3 separate regions of the Homo sapiens genome follow, and regions 1 and 3 are each linked to region 2. Evidence: promoter capture Hi-C in 16 types of primary human blood cells and fetal thymus (Javierre and others, 2016). All regions are on one chromosome and are shown on one strand. Each heading gives the region's core, a stretch centred on a gene start or on the middle of the fragment in contact. The rest is flanking DNA. Distances are from core to core; before and after follow the strand shown. Region 1 holds the start of TMEM177 (transmembrane protein 177). Region 2 holds the start of CCDC93 (CCC complex scaffolding subunit CCDC93). Region 3 holds the start of C2orf76 (chromosome 2 open reading frame 76).

Region 1 (4,618 bases), core at 651-3,150, 1.7 Mb after region 2:
TCTCTAGTAAGAATTTTTTGGTTTATATAAACTCCATGTCATCATCCCATCTGATGAAATAAGCAATAATTCATTAATATCATCTAATATTCAAATCCAAATTCAAATTTCTCCAAGATGCCTTTTGTTTGTTTGTTTGTTCCTTTGTTTGTTTGAGACAGAGTCTCACTTAGCCACCCAGGCTGGAGTGCAGTGGCACAATCTCGGCTTACTGCAACCACCATCTCCCAGGTTTTAGCGATTCTCCCGTCTCAGCCTCCTGAATAGCTAGGATTATAGGCGTGTGCCACCATGCCTGGCTAATTTTTGTATTTTAGTAGAGACGGAGTTTCACCATGTTGGCCAGGCTGGTCTTGAACTCCTGACCTCAGGTGATCTGCCCTCCTTGGCCTCCCAAAGTGCCAGGATTACAGGCGTAAGCCACCGCGCCCAGCCCAAGGTGTCTTTTTTACAGTTAGTTTATTTGGTTCAGGATCCCAATAAAAGTCACATATTGCATTTAACTGCAATGACTCTCAAGTCTCTTTTCTTTTGAGTCCCCCTCCTTCCCTGTTTATGCCATTGATTTGTTGGATAAACCACGTCATTTGCCCTGTAGAATGTCCCACATTCTGGCTTTGGCTGAGGTCACATTGCACTATTTACATACAAACAACTGAGCAGCCAAAATTGGGGGGGGGGGCTCAGAAACAGAACAGACTTTAATAATAATAGCTAATGGCTAGGCGGCACAAACCGTGAGGCACAGGTTACATATACACCAACTCATTTTATCACACAGCTAGTAAGGGGTGGAGCCCGGCTTTAACCCTAGGCAGTCTGTTTTCACCCTCTGTAAAGGATTGGGCATGGCTGTGTTCCAAGAAAACTTTATTTACAAAAGCAGGTGGAGAGCTGGATTTGGTGCACAGATTAGATGATCCCTCATCTACCTCACAGAGCAGCTGGAAAGGAGAAATGACAGATGGCACGCTGCTCTGTGGACTGTACAGTGTGAAGCACCTGGGAGGAGCTTGGGGGGCAGCGAACATGGTAATAAACATAAAGCTCAGAGCTCCCCGCCAAGGGTGAGCGCTTCCAGACGGAGAAGTACACGGGCCGGCCAGTCAGATGGGCATGGGTTCTGATGGGGGCCCTGCCATAGGCCGCCTGGTGACCCACGCGGGGCTGCCGTTCCTTCGGGGGTTCAACGGCATGATCAAAGACACCGGGATGTGTGTGTGTGTGTGTGTGTGTGTGTGTGATGATCAAAGACACCGGGGTGGGTGTGTGTGTGTGTGTGTGTCATGATCAAAGACACCAGGGTATGTGTGTGTGTGTGTGTGTGTGTGGCATGATCAAAGACACCGGGGTGTGTGTGTGTGTGTGTGTGGCATGATCAAAGACACCGGGGTGTGTGTGTGTGTGTGTGTGTGTGACGGAGTCTCGCTCTGTCGCCCAGGTTGGAGTGCAGTGGCGTATTCTCGGCTCACTGCAACCTCTGCCTCCCAGGTTCAAGCGATTCTCCTGCCTCAGCCTCCCCAGCAGCTGGGGACTACAGGCGTGCGCCACCACGCCCAGCTAATTTTTGTATTAATCAAAGACGCATTTCAACGCAGAGGAGGAAGTGCTAGCGGACCCACCCCAAGGTGCACAGTTAGAGAAGGAGCCTCTGCGGCGGCCGGAGCCCCCCACGGACATCCCCTTGAGGCCCCCCCAGCCACACCCCCAAGAGTCCCGCCCCCAGACCCGTCGAGCGAGCTCCCCTCCCTGAAATCCTCGCCCCGAGATCTCCGGCCGGCGAGCTCCGCCCCCTGAAGTCCCCATCCCAAGATCCGGGGCCGGCGAGCTCCGCCTCCCGAAGTCCCCGCCCCCAGATCCCCGGCCGGCGTGCTTTGCGGCCGCCCTGCCGCGCGCACATGTAGGCGTTCCGAGCGGCGGCGGAGGTGAGCGCACGGACGAGCGGGAGGGACCCTTCTCCGGCCTGATGCGACCCGGTAACGCGTTCAGACTGCGGAGTAGCCTAGGGGCCCAGAGTGGAAGCGTAGCGAGGACCCCTCTGCGGGGCTCCTGCAGCCCCTCCTCCCCCAGCCACCGGCGGGCTGCATGGTACTGTGTTCTAGGCCCACCCCGCAGCGCGATGGCCCTAGGGACGTTGGACTTTGGTCCAGACCTTTCCTTTCTTAGCCTCACTTTCCGCATTGGGAAAAAAAAAAAGCCCGAATGATAATGATTCTTATAGGAGTTCTTGATTAAGATAGGCCAAGCGGTACCCTGCGTTTTTGTTTGCGGCAACTCATTCGTTGCTCATTAAGCACTTTTCACGGACAGGAATACAGTAAGTTTCAATCAAAGTGAAATAATTGTGAATTTTTACTGACGTATTCACGGATGAAGTGATAGGATGCCCGGGGATGTTTCAAAATAAACCAGTTGGACGGAAGTGTGGTGGAAAGAGAAATCAAACAAGATTGGCCATGAGTTGATGGGATTGAAGTTGATGGATGTACTATTTTGTCTACTTTGGTATATGCTTGTAATTTGGCATAACAAGTTTTCTAAAACAAAAAGTTTGCTGTGGACACCTGACTATGCCTGTGTTAGCTTGCTAGAGCTGCCATGCCGAAGTACCGGAGACTGGGTGGCCCAACCAGCAGAAATTTGTCCTCTGGGAGTTATGGAGGCTGGAAGTTCAAGACCAGGGTGTTAACAGGGTTGGTGTCTTCTGAGACCTCCCTTCTTGGCTTGTAGGTGGTAGCCTTTTCCCTGGATCCTCACATGATCTTCCTGCTGTGCCTGTTTGCATCCTAATCTCTTCTTATAAGTACACCAGTCAAATTGGATTAGGATCCATACTGATGGCCTCATTTTATCTTAATTATCTCCTTAAAGACCCTGTCTCCAAATACAGCCACAGTCTGAGGTACTGGGGGTTAGGACTTAAATATATGAACTGGGGAGGAGGAGGAGACACAGTGCAGCCCATAACACTGTCACTTCACTAGCTTAGGATTTTGGCCATTTAAGTTTTCACAGCTTTGAAATAGGGTTAGCTGTAGTAATTAGGTCATGGGGTTGTGAGGGTTCAATCGGTAAGAGTGCTCAGAACTGAGTCTAGCATATAGTAAGCACTCAATAAATTGAACACGTTTTTCCTTATAAATTAGTAATCATAGGGCTTTACCATGGGATGAGTGGAATGAGGCAGTTGGAGTGCCGTGCCCAGCGATGGGAATAAAAGTCATTACAGCCATTATTATAAGGAATATCTGCTGCTGTGCCAGACACTAAATGTTTTATGTATGTTTATTCATGTGCTCATCACCGCCACCCTAGAGGTGGGCCATTACGACACACCTGTTTGGCACATGGGGAAATTGACGCACAGAGACGGAGCTGGGATTTGAACACAGGCACTCTGGCTCTAGAGCCCACACTCTTCACCACTATGCTGTGTTACTTTGGTTTAAAAAGGTGGTGTGGACCCTGGAGGATGTTCAGTCTGCAGGCTGACCCAGGGAAACTGGCTGACTTCTCTTTTTCTTGGCCCAGATTGTCCGCAGTGACTACACTCATGGCAGGTCCCCTGTGGCGGACCGCAGCATTTGTGCAGAGACACAGGACAGGCCTCTTGGTGGGTTCCTGTGCAGGCCTGTTTGGAGTTCCAATCTCGTACCACCTCTTCCCGGATCCCGTGGTCCAATGGCTCTACCAGTACTGGCCTCAGGGCCAGCCAGCTCCGCTCCCTCCACAGCTGCAGAGCCTCTTCCAAGAGGTGCTACAGGACATAGGTGTTCCTTCAGGCCATTGCTACAAGCCCTTCACCACCTTCACCTTCCAACCTGTGAGTGCAGGCTTCCCAAGACTCCCTGCTGGGGCTGTGGTGGGCATCCCTGCCAGTTTCTTGGGAGACCTAGTGATCAACACTAACCATCCCGTGGTCATACATGGGCATACAGTGGACTGGCGGAGCCCAGCAGGCGCCCGGCTGAGAGCTTCCCTGACCTTGTCCCGTGAAGCCCAGAAGTTCGCCTTGGCCAGGGAAGTGGTGTACCTGGAAAGCAGTACCACTGCCGTGCACGCCCTGCTGGCCCCAGCTTGCCTGGCAGGGACCTGGGCACTGGGCGTGGGTGCCAAGTACACCCTGGGGCTCCATGCAGGCCCCATGAATTTACGGGCTGCCTTCAGCTTGGTGGCAGCAGTGGCAGGCTTTGTGGCCTACGCCTTCTCCCAGGATTCTCTCACTCATGCCGTGGAGTCCTGGCTGGACCGCCGCACGGCCTCCCTCTCTGCAGCCTATGCCTGTGGTGGAGTGGAGTTCTATGAGAAGCTTCTGTCGGGCAACCTGGCCCTGCGCAGTCTCTTGGGCAAAGACGGGGAGAAGCTGTATACACCCAGCGGGAACATCGTCCCCAGACACTTGTTCCGAATCAAACATTTACCCTACACCACCCGCCGGGACTCTGTGCTGCAGATGTGGAGGGGGATGCTCAATCCGGGCCGCTCCTGATGGGCTCATCACAAGGACACTTCCAGCTTGTGCAGACACCACCCTGCCATTGAGTCTGGAGGGCCCTGTTGGAGCCTTTGGACCTATAGCTCACGGCCAGAAAAATCACTGGCTTTGGAATTAAATAGC
Region 2 (4,062 bases), core at 1,371-3,870:
TTCACACCTTCTCTCCCTTCTGCAAAAAATCTGGGATGGTTGAGAAACGTCTACAAGTGAAAACACTCTAAGAAAAGAGAAGCTAAAGAGTAGTTGTAGTTCAAGTCAGCAGAAAAAGAAAATGAGATAATATAAGTACTTTCTTAAAACTTCTGGGGTGTAAAACAGGAACACTTCATTTGTTCAATCATTTATTATGAAAACATGAGAAGAAGACAAAAAAAACCAAAAAAAAATAGGATCATCACTGCCTCAACACCTATCTAATGGACACCCACTGGCCACCCCACCACAGATGCAGGGCCCAGGCTTCCATCCACTCACCCCTAGCATGGAGAAGTTTACTTTTGCAATATAACTTGTGAAGTAATTTTGGCACAAGACACTAAATGGGAATGTATGACTCCAAATTCACTTAGCAGATTAACACTGAAATCAAATGGAAAAGGGCCACTGTCTGATCTGCTGGGAATGAAAGACCCTCTCTTGAAGCAATAAAAATCCACCAGGCTGGTTAATACATCCAGTTGTTGAAGCTAAATTTCTGACAAAGACAAACAACAATGAGCTCTTACACAAAGCCCAATAAACTTTCAATTTCCGTCCACTATAGTTGTTGTAAGCTGGAAGGCAGGCCAAGTCTAGCTATCTTTGTAAAGGGTTAAAAAGAATGAATTCGGGCAGGGCAGTGGCTCACATCTGCAATCCCAGCTACTGGGAAGCCTGAGGCATAAGAATTGCTTGAACCTGGGAGGCAGAGGTTGCAATGAACCGAGCTCACGCCATTGCACTCCAGCCTCGGTGACAGAGTGAGACTCTGTCTCAAAAAAAAAAAAAAGAATGAATTTAATGAATTAACTGGTCTAGTGACATCCTAATAACACAGACTATCCATATTTATATTTACTAGCTTCTGAACTAAATGATGATAAGTTATTGCTTGACCTGGTGAGTGTGGCCTCTTAGCAGTCAGTGAAAGTTTAAACGAAGGACATACAGCAGCAGGTTGCTCTTCATTAATTAATTTATTTATTTTCCCCCCAGAAAGACCTCCACTGATAGTACTGTGGAATATTGGGTTGGACGGATTTAAAGTAGAACGTGGGAGACCAGACAGAAGTCTACAGCAAAAGGCCAGGCAAAAACTTGATGAGAGCCTAGAATACAGAAGTGGCAAAAAAGAAAACTTCAAATGTCACAGTACAAATCCTATTGTTCACTATCCTGGGTCCCATCCCAGGCAACGTGCATGTAAGATTTTACCTAATACAGGGGTTCTGACAACATTATGCTTGTCAGGTTTTCTTAAGACAACAAAATGGACTTGCATTCGGGGAGCACACACTGACAAACAAATCTGTCCTTTCAGACTATATATATTCCCAGCTTCTGGACACAGAACACAGTGATCCCTCAATTAGTGGATACTTGTGATATGAAAGAACTGAGGATTTGGGAGGAATGCAGAGGAGTAACATTGGTCACTGGCAGGTAAGTGTGAAGGGACGACTCACCACGTCAAGCAAGCAGTCACCCTGCCCAATGCCTGCTCCAGAACCTTAGGAAAAAGGCAGAGGTGCGGCGTGGCTTCCATTTCTCTCCAGAATCCAGTAAACTAGACTAGCCTTTGAGTAAAATCAACTGAAAGGGACGACAGATGCAAACTACCTATGAGATGCTAAGTGGTATTTGCAGCCAAAAGAAAATGAATACACTTTCCCTGTATTCCCAGCAAACGTGGAAATCCGCAAACCACTCATGACCCCCTCCCTAGCACTAAGTGAGTACTTAACAAACACCTTTGGAAAAGAACCCCGCCCTCTTCTGGAGAAGCCGCAGCCTTTCCGCCCAGAGCCGGGTCCCCCGCCACACAGCACCCCTGGAGTGCGTCCCACCCCGAACGCCCCGGCGCGCTGACCCAGCGGGACACCTCCCTGGTGCGCGCAAGTCTCCCAAACTTCCTCCCGCCGCCCCGGCCCGGGTCCACGCAAGGAGGGTGGCATTCCCTCCCGACAGCAAGGCGGGTGGGGCGGGCCGCCGGGACTCTGCGGGGTGGCGGTAGACGTCCCAAGGTCACCACCCGAGCCCGAACCGCCTCGGAGAGCGGTCTCGTGACTCCAGCGCCCAGCAGCCTCGGCCCTCGGGGCTAGCCCTGCGGCGCGGGGTGGGGGAGCCCGTCCCGGACAGGGAGAAAGGTGGGAGCCCAGGACCCCGCGGCGCGTGGGGCTGCGTCAGAGCAGGTGTCGGGCTAGGAAGGCCACCTGCGCCCCAAGAGACCCGGGAGCGGCTTAAGTTTGTCCTCACCCGCCCGCCGCCCCCTGCCCATGCAGGGGTACCTGCTCCCCGCCTCCAAGAAGAGGGTCGGCGCTTCCCTGAGGTGGATACGCCTGAGGAAGGGGGCGGGGCGCCCCTAACGCACCCAGGGCCCGCTCAGCCCGCCGCCCCGCGGCTCGGCCCTCTCTTCAGGAACCCCGACGTGTCAGGGAAGGAGGAGGCGTTCTTACCTCCGGGAGACCCTGGCCCTCCGGCCCCCTGGGCAACCCCATGATCCGACCGGGCTGTCGTAAGGCGAGAGCGAAGCCCGCCAAGCGTCCGGAGGAAGCTGTCCCTGCCGCGGAGCTGCTACCGGGGTGGAGTACAAAGCGGAAACTCCCTCTGCCGCCGCCGCCGCCGCCGCCGCCGCCTGCCCGAAGCGCCGCAGCCGGGCAGAGCATGCGCGCTGGGGCCGGAGCGCGGCGCCACTGCGCCTGCGCCACAGCAGCCCGGGGAGAGGTGGGCTGGGCTGCAGGTCCTGGCGTTGTGCTGGATCATCGCGCCCGTACTCTGAAGTTTTCTCCGTGGCGCTCTTTGAGAGGGGTTCCTCCTGCATCTTGAGAATATTTTGCATTTCGGCTCCCTTCTCTTCTCGCTGCCATCGGATGCCCCAAATAGGTCCTGTCCCCTCGGTGAATCAGACTTCGGAAACCGCCTCGCTTCAGGGTCAGAGTCCAAGTACAGATGAGCTTGAGGATTCTGAATGCACGCCCGGCTCTAGACCTTACAGACACACGCTTGGACAGACTTCTCCATATACGACCCAGGAACGGACCCCTTGAGAAGGGATTCTTCAAGCCCGCTGCCCTCTCCAGCGTCCTGGCCAGTGGCATCGCGTTCCCAGGAAACCTCGCTTCAGATATTGCCCACCACCCCGCCCTATTCACGGTTCCTGGGTCTTCCTGGAGGAATGACATCTCAGAGAATGCGGACTCCTATGTTCATGTCATTTGAGCCGCCGCGTCCCTTATTTGATGTACCCCTTGTTGGTCCCGGAGGATGGCAACTAGACAAAAGGTCACAGGCCCCCACACCCGCTCCATAACGGCTTCTTGGCTTTTTGTTTCTTTTAAGCAATGAGGAAAGAGATGACTTTCGTGAAAACTTTTGCTGGAGAAGAGATCCTTCCCTCTGTATATGTGTGTGGGATGGGAAGTGTCAGACTCAGACCTTTAGTTCCTTGAGATCAAAAAGGTTTCGTGTTTGCTTTCGTCTCTTCTTTGCATCCCTAGCGTCTTTAAAAGAGTAGGCAGGCGCGGTGGCACATGCCTGTAATCCCAGCACTTTGGGGGTCGAGGCGGGAGTATCACTTGAACCTAGGAGTTGGAGACCAACCTGGGCAACATAGTGAGACCTCCATCTCTACAAAAAATAAGAAAATTAGCCCGGTGCCAGTGGTCCCAGCTAGCCGGTAGGCTGAGGTGGGAGAATTGCTTGAGCCAGGAAGGTTGAGGTTGCAGTGAGCTATGATAACACCACTGCACTCCTGCTTGGGTGACAGAGCAAGACCCTGTCTAAAAACTATATATATATACGTGTATATATATATATGTGTGTATATATATATACGTGTATATATGTGTGTATATATATACGTGTATATATATATGATGTTTTCTATTTTATTTTATTTTTGCACCTTTTGTACTCCTCCTGGAGTTCATCCTGACAGACAGAGGTTTGTCTGGAGCCAGAGCTCACAAATAGTTGGAACTGCCCTAAGGATGCCATTTTGTTCTTAAATATAAC
Region 3 (4,159 bases), core at 925-3,424, 1.4 Mb after region 2:
TTAGACAGTAGAAAAGTAAATTAAAATTAAAATAATTGTAAATAAAATAATTACAACATGTTACGGTGGCTAACAAGGACATAAACAGAGCTGAGGATCTTGCATTCTCAGAATTATGAAAAGCAATATTCAATCAAGGCCAGGCGCAGTGGCTCACACCTGTACTCCCACCACGTTAGGAGGCCAAAGTGGGAGAATCCCTTGAGCCCAGGAGATCAAGACCAACAACATAGCAAGACCCCATCTCTACAAAAAATAAAAATAAAAATAAAAAAATTAGCCAGGCATGGTGGTTGTGCCCACATTTCCAGCTACTCGGGAGGCTAAGGTGGGAGGATCGCTTGAGGCCTGGAGTTCAAGGCTGCAGAGAGCTGAGATTGTGCCACTGAACTACAGCCTAGGTAAAAGAGTGAGACCACATCACACGCGAAAATAATTAAAAAACAAAAACTAAAAAACTAAAAGCAACTGATCTTTGAGAAGTGATAACTGCATTCTCAAAGTACCTAATCTCAACAATACCCTAACTTAAAACCTGCTGACTAGGAGATGTATTTGACTGCAAATCTGGCCCACACAAGCAATAATCTGAGTTTCCATCAAGGAAGCTGTAAGCACCAAGTAGAGCAAAAACAAATCCAGGCCTCAAATGGAAAAAGCAGCTCTGAATTGTGATTTTCGAAGAAACCTGCATTTCTTACACTTCAGTGTACTTTCCCCATATTTAACTCCAAGATTTTTGTTAATTTGTTTGGTTTTCCTTTCTCAAACAAAATTATGCTCAGACTGAAAACCCTAGATTTGTTCCCTATTGCATCTTCATTTCTTCCCAAACATTCCATAAAACGTGACCTACATTAAGTTAGCAAGTTAAGTCTGAAAGCGTCTACCTTCCCTGGGGAGGGGGAAGGTGTAGGCAGGGCAGAGATTTGTAGTCCAGCCCTCTTGCCACAAATTATGAATTAGAGAGGAATGACTTTGCTTTTTTAATGATCTCCAGAGAATTTTCCATCATTTCCCTCTCTTCACCCAGCTCCTTTGCAACCACTGCCAGAGAAGTCTTCCTTTAGCTTCTTAAACATCGATCCTAAAACACTTCCAGACACCTGTGCTGCTCCTTTCAGTTCCCATGGAGATTAGGCTGTGTAACAATCTCGCAAAGACGTTCCCCTCCGTCTCCTCATCCTCTTTTCAAACCCTTTTACGATTTCCCATCTCACTCAGCATGACAGTCAAAGTCCCTGTGATGGCCAACTTCTGCATCACCTAGCCAGTCTGCCACCGCCAAAACTCTCCAGCCTCATCTTTCTACTCTTCCCCTGGTTCCTTGCCCACGCCTTTACACTTGTTCTCTGCTTGGAATCTTCCCTCCCCTCCTTGAGGAACTTTCTCAAATGTCACCTTCCCTCAATACTCCCCCTCCTCCATTTAAAACTATAAACTTCCAACTCTCTAAGCCCCTAAAGTACTCTATATTTAACTTATTGTATAAACTACTGTCCCTACTTGTAAGTTCCAAGATTGCAGGGATTCACCCGCTTTGTTCACTGCTGTCTGCCAAGGTCTAGAACAGTGCAAGTTACCCAACAGGAGTTCAATAAACAGCCATTCATTTAACAAATATTTGCTGAGCACTTCGTCCCGTCCAAGTTTGTTAAATCAAGACAAATAAGACACCGTCCCTGCCTTTAACGCACCAGATGGAGAAATGCACCACAGACATAAATGTGCAATACAGGCCTGACACTACGGCCACAAGCAAGTCAAAGAACGTGCCAAAAGTTCAGAGGAAGAAGCCTCGGCTTCGCCTTTCGGGAGACCAGTCCAGCTTTCCACCATCACGCTGCTCATCAGGGACCATCTCCGGGGGTCTCCTCTAGACCCCAAGGGAGGAGCGGGTCCCGCCCGCCATTCCCAGGTCTCAGAGTTTACTTGTCCAGAGATGCAACTTCCGGCCTCTTCAGGCCGGGCAAGATTTAAGGAAAGAAAAGAAACATAAGGACCTCCGTTCTTCGGTCTCCGTCCCCTCCCCTTCCCCCGCGTGCCGTCCCCACAACGGGCCAGGACTGAACCCAACTCTCGACCAACTCCCGGCAGCAAAACTAAGCACCCTACTTCCGTTGTCCCCACCTGTTCCCGGCGTCCCCTTCGGCTACTCCCGGCGTTTGCGCAAGCGGTCCCACGTGGGCTCGGGCGGGGCTAGCGCCGCGGCGGGGGCTGGGCACGCCCCTAGCGCATAGCTGGCTTCTGATTGGCTTTCCGGTGCTCGCCCGAGCAGGGTTGGGGCGAGTGGACCGCGCCTCTAAAGGCGCTTGCCAGTGCAATCTGGGCGATCGCTTCCTGGTCCTCGCCTCCTCCGCTGTCTCCCTGGAGTTCTTGCAAGTCGGCCAGGATGTCTCAGGTACAGCGCGTGCACAGCCAGGCTGCGAAGGTGCAGCGGGCGGGAGGCCCGTTGGGGGCTCAGCCGGCTGCCAGAAGCTCTCGGGCTCTTTCCTTCCGTGCCCCTCACTTGCTCATGGGCCCATGCCTAGCCCTGATTCGTTGGACAGAGCCTTGTGAGCGGGATTTTCCGTTTGGGGATTTCTAAATCTGCTGCCCACCCCGCAACTGCCGGAAAGTTGCCCATGGGGTGGACTTCGCTGTGTAGCGGGAGAGGGGTGGGAGTCGAGGGTGCTTGATGGAGAGATGGGGGAAGGGGTTGCACGGATTGGAGGAGCGAGGAGACTCAGTCCCCATCCCGAAGCACAGGGCAGGACGTCGCGGCGGAGTGGGGAAGCGAGGAGTCCGTGGCCGAGAGCTTGGAGGTCAGGGGAAGTACGGGGCCGGCTGCTCAGAGTGCGGGACGAGGAGAATCGCGGCCCGGGGAGAGGTGACCCAGGGGCCCCTCCCTTCTCTCCAGTGTAGACCCTTGTCTGAGACCGAGCTATGTGGGGCGACCTCTGGCTCCTCCCGCCTGCCTCTGCCAATCCGGGCACTGGGACAGAGGTCGGTGTTGAACGCGCGGGCCCCAGGGGGAGGGAGGGGACCAACGGGCTCCGGCGCTGACACCGCGGCACTCATGCCCTGTCCCCTTTCAGCTGTTTCCAGCATACTGTGCCCCGTCTGTCCTCAGGCCAGGGCTTCGCTGCAGCCCCGGCCACTCCCTAGTGCCTGGCCCGGTGGTGGCCAGGCAGTTGGCCGCGCTGCTTCTCCCGCAGAGGGGACCCCCACTGGGGGCGAAGGCTTGGCCTGCCCTCTTCACTGCTGTATTTCCAGACCTGATGCCTGCGTTTGTGAGAGCTCTGGATATATGGTTTTCGATTGAATGAGTGAACTGGAGGGGCTTCCCCTTCTTGTGTTGCTGAATCTTTCTAGCTGCCCTGTTGGGGCAGGGAGGGGCAGACACACTTCAGGGGCTGCATTGCCCGAAGGGTGCCACCTTTCCCACCTCTCCATCCCCGTAACTGGGCTGTCATCAGGCCACAGTAGGATTCTTACCCTCTCCCACCCAGAGGAGGCCCTCAATCCTCTCCTCTCCCTTCCATTTAGGCTGAGTTTGAGAAAGCTGCAGAGGAGGTTAGGCACCTTAAGACCAAGCCATCGGATGAGGAGATGCTGTTCATCTATGGCCACTACAAACAAGCAACTGTGGGCGACATAAATACAGGTATGCAGAGCGGGGGTTGGAAGGGCATCTGCTCATCAAAGCAGGCTCAGCAGCTCAGACTGGAAGTCCCTGGGAACTTCACTCTCAAACTGCCTGAGGCCCTACTCTTCAGGTGGGGTATGGTGATGGTTCCTGAGGTGGAAAAGACCATGTTCCGGATTCTCAGTGTCTCCAGTAGTAACAGAATTCAAATCCTGGTTTTAGAAGGTCTTTACTGGTTATCACCAGCAGCTACTCTCTACTAGGGAAGAAGCAAAGGCTGCAGCTTGGAAAAGACTTGCTGAAGGCTCTCAGCTCAGTAGTATCATTGTTGAGCCGTTCAGCTTCTGCCCTAGATGGGCAGGATCAAAGTTGGAGCACTTTTTGGAGCACTTGACAGCCTGGCCAAGCCTGATGTCAGGAGCAGAGAAGCACCTGGTTTCTTGGGCTAGGTCAGAGCATTTCGCTAACAAGTCTGTGCCTTCCTGATGATAACTTTTTCCCTGCCCAGAAATCTTGGTGCAGATTTTGAGG

Evidence for each region. Contacts are between HindIII fragments. The CHiCAGO score rates a contact against its expected background, and 5 or more counts as called.
Region 1: the fragment with the promoter of TMEM177 here is called in contact with the fragment with the promoter of CCDC93 in region 2 in 1 of 17 cell types (non-activated CD4 T cells); the score reaches 5.5 in non-activated CD4 T cells.
Region 3: a contact is called between the fragment with the promoter of C2orf76 here and the fragment with the promoter of CCDC93 in region 2, in 2 of 17 cell types (non-activated CD4 T cells and total CD4 T cells). The highest score is 7.7, in non-activated CD4 T cells.

The regions. Positions count from the first base shown.
Region 1 is chr2:119,677,301-119,681,918 of GRCh38, forward strand. TMEM177 (transmembrane protein 177) reads left to right here and starts at 1,901. Exons shown (of 2, transcript NM_030577.3): 1 at 1,901-1,976; 2 at 3,532-4,618. The coding sequence starts at 3,554. The coding sequence ends at 4,489. RefSeq lists a silencer at 1,748-1,977. The HindIII fragment of the contact is 6,463 bases long and covers 1-4,307 here.
Region 2 is chr2:118,011,450-118,015,511 of GRCh38, forward strand. CCDC93 (CCC complex scaffolding subunit CCDC93) reads right to left here and starts at 2,621. Exons shown (of 24, transcript NM_019044.5): 1 at 2,505-2,621. The coding sequence starts at 2,546. RefSeq lists silencers at 2,109-2,158, 2,629-2,828. The HindIII fragment of the contact is 9,438 bases long and covers 1-4,062 here.
Region 3 is chr2:119,364,660-119,368,818 of GRCh38, forward strand. It overlaps C2orf76 (chromosome 2 open reading frame 76), which reads right to left and starts at 2,175. Exons shown (of 6, transcript NM_001322331.2): 1 at 2,131-2,175. DBI (diazepam binding inhibitor, acyl-CoA binding protein) reads left to right here and starts at 2,318. Exons shown (of 4, transcript NM_001079862.4): 1 at 2,318-2,401; 2 at 3,529-3,646. The coding sequence starts at 2,393. RefSeq lists enhancers at 1,749-2,008, 2,379-2,708, 3,239-3,438 and a silencer at 2,129-2,278. The HindIII fragment of the contact is 12,909 bases long and covers 1-4,159 here.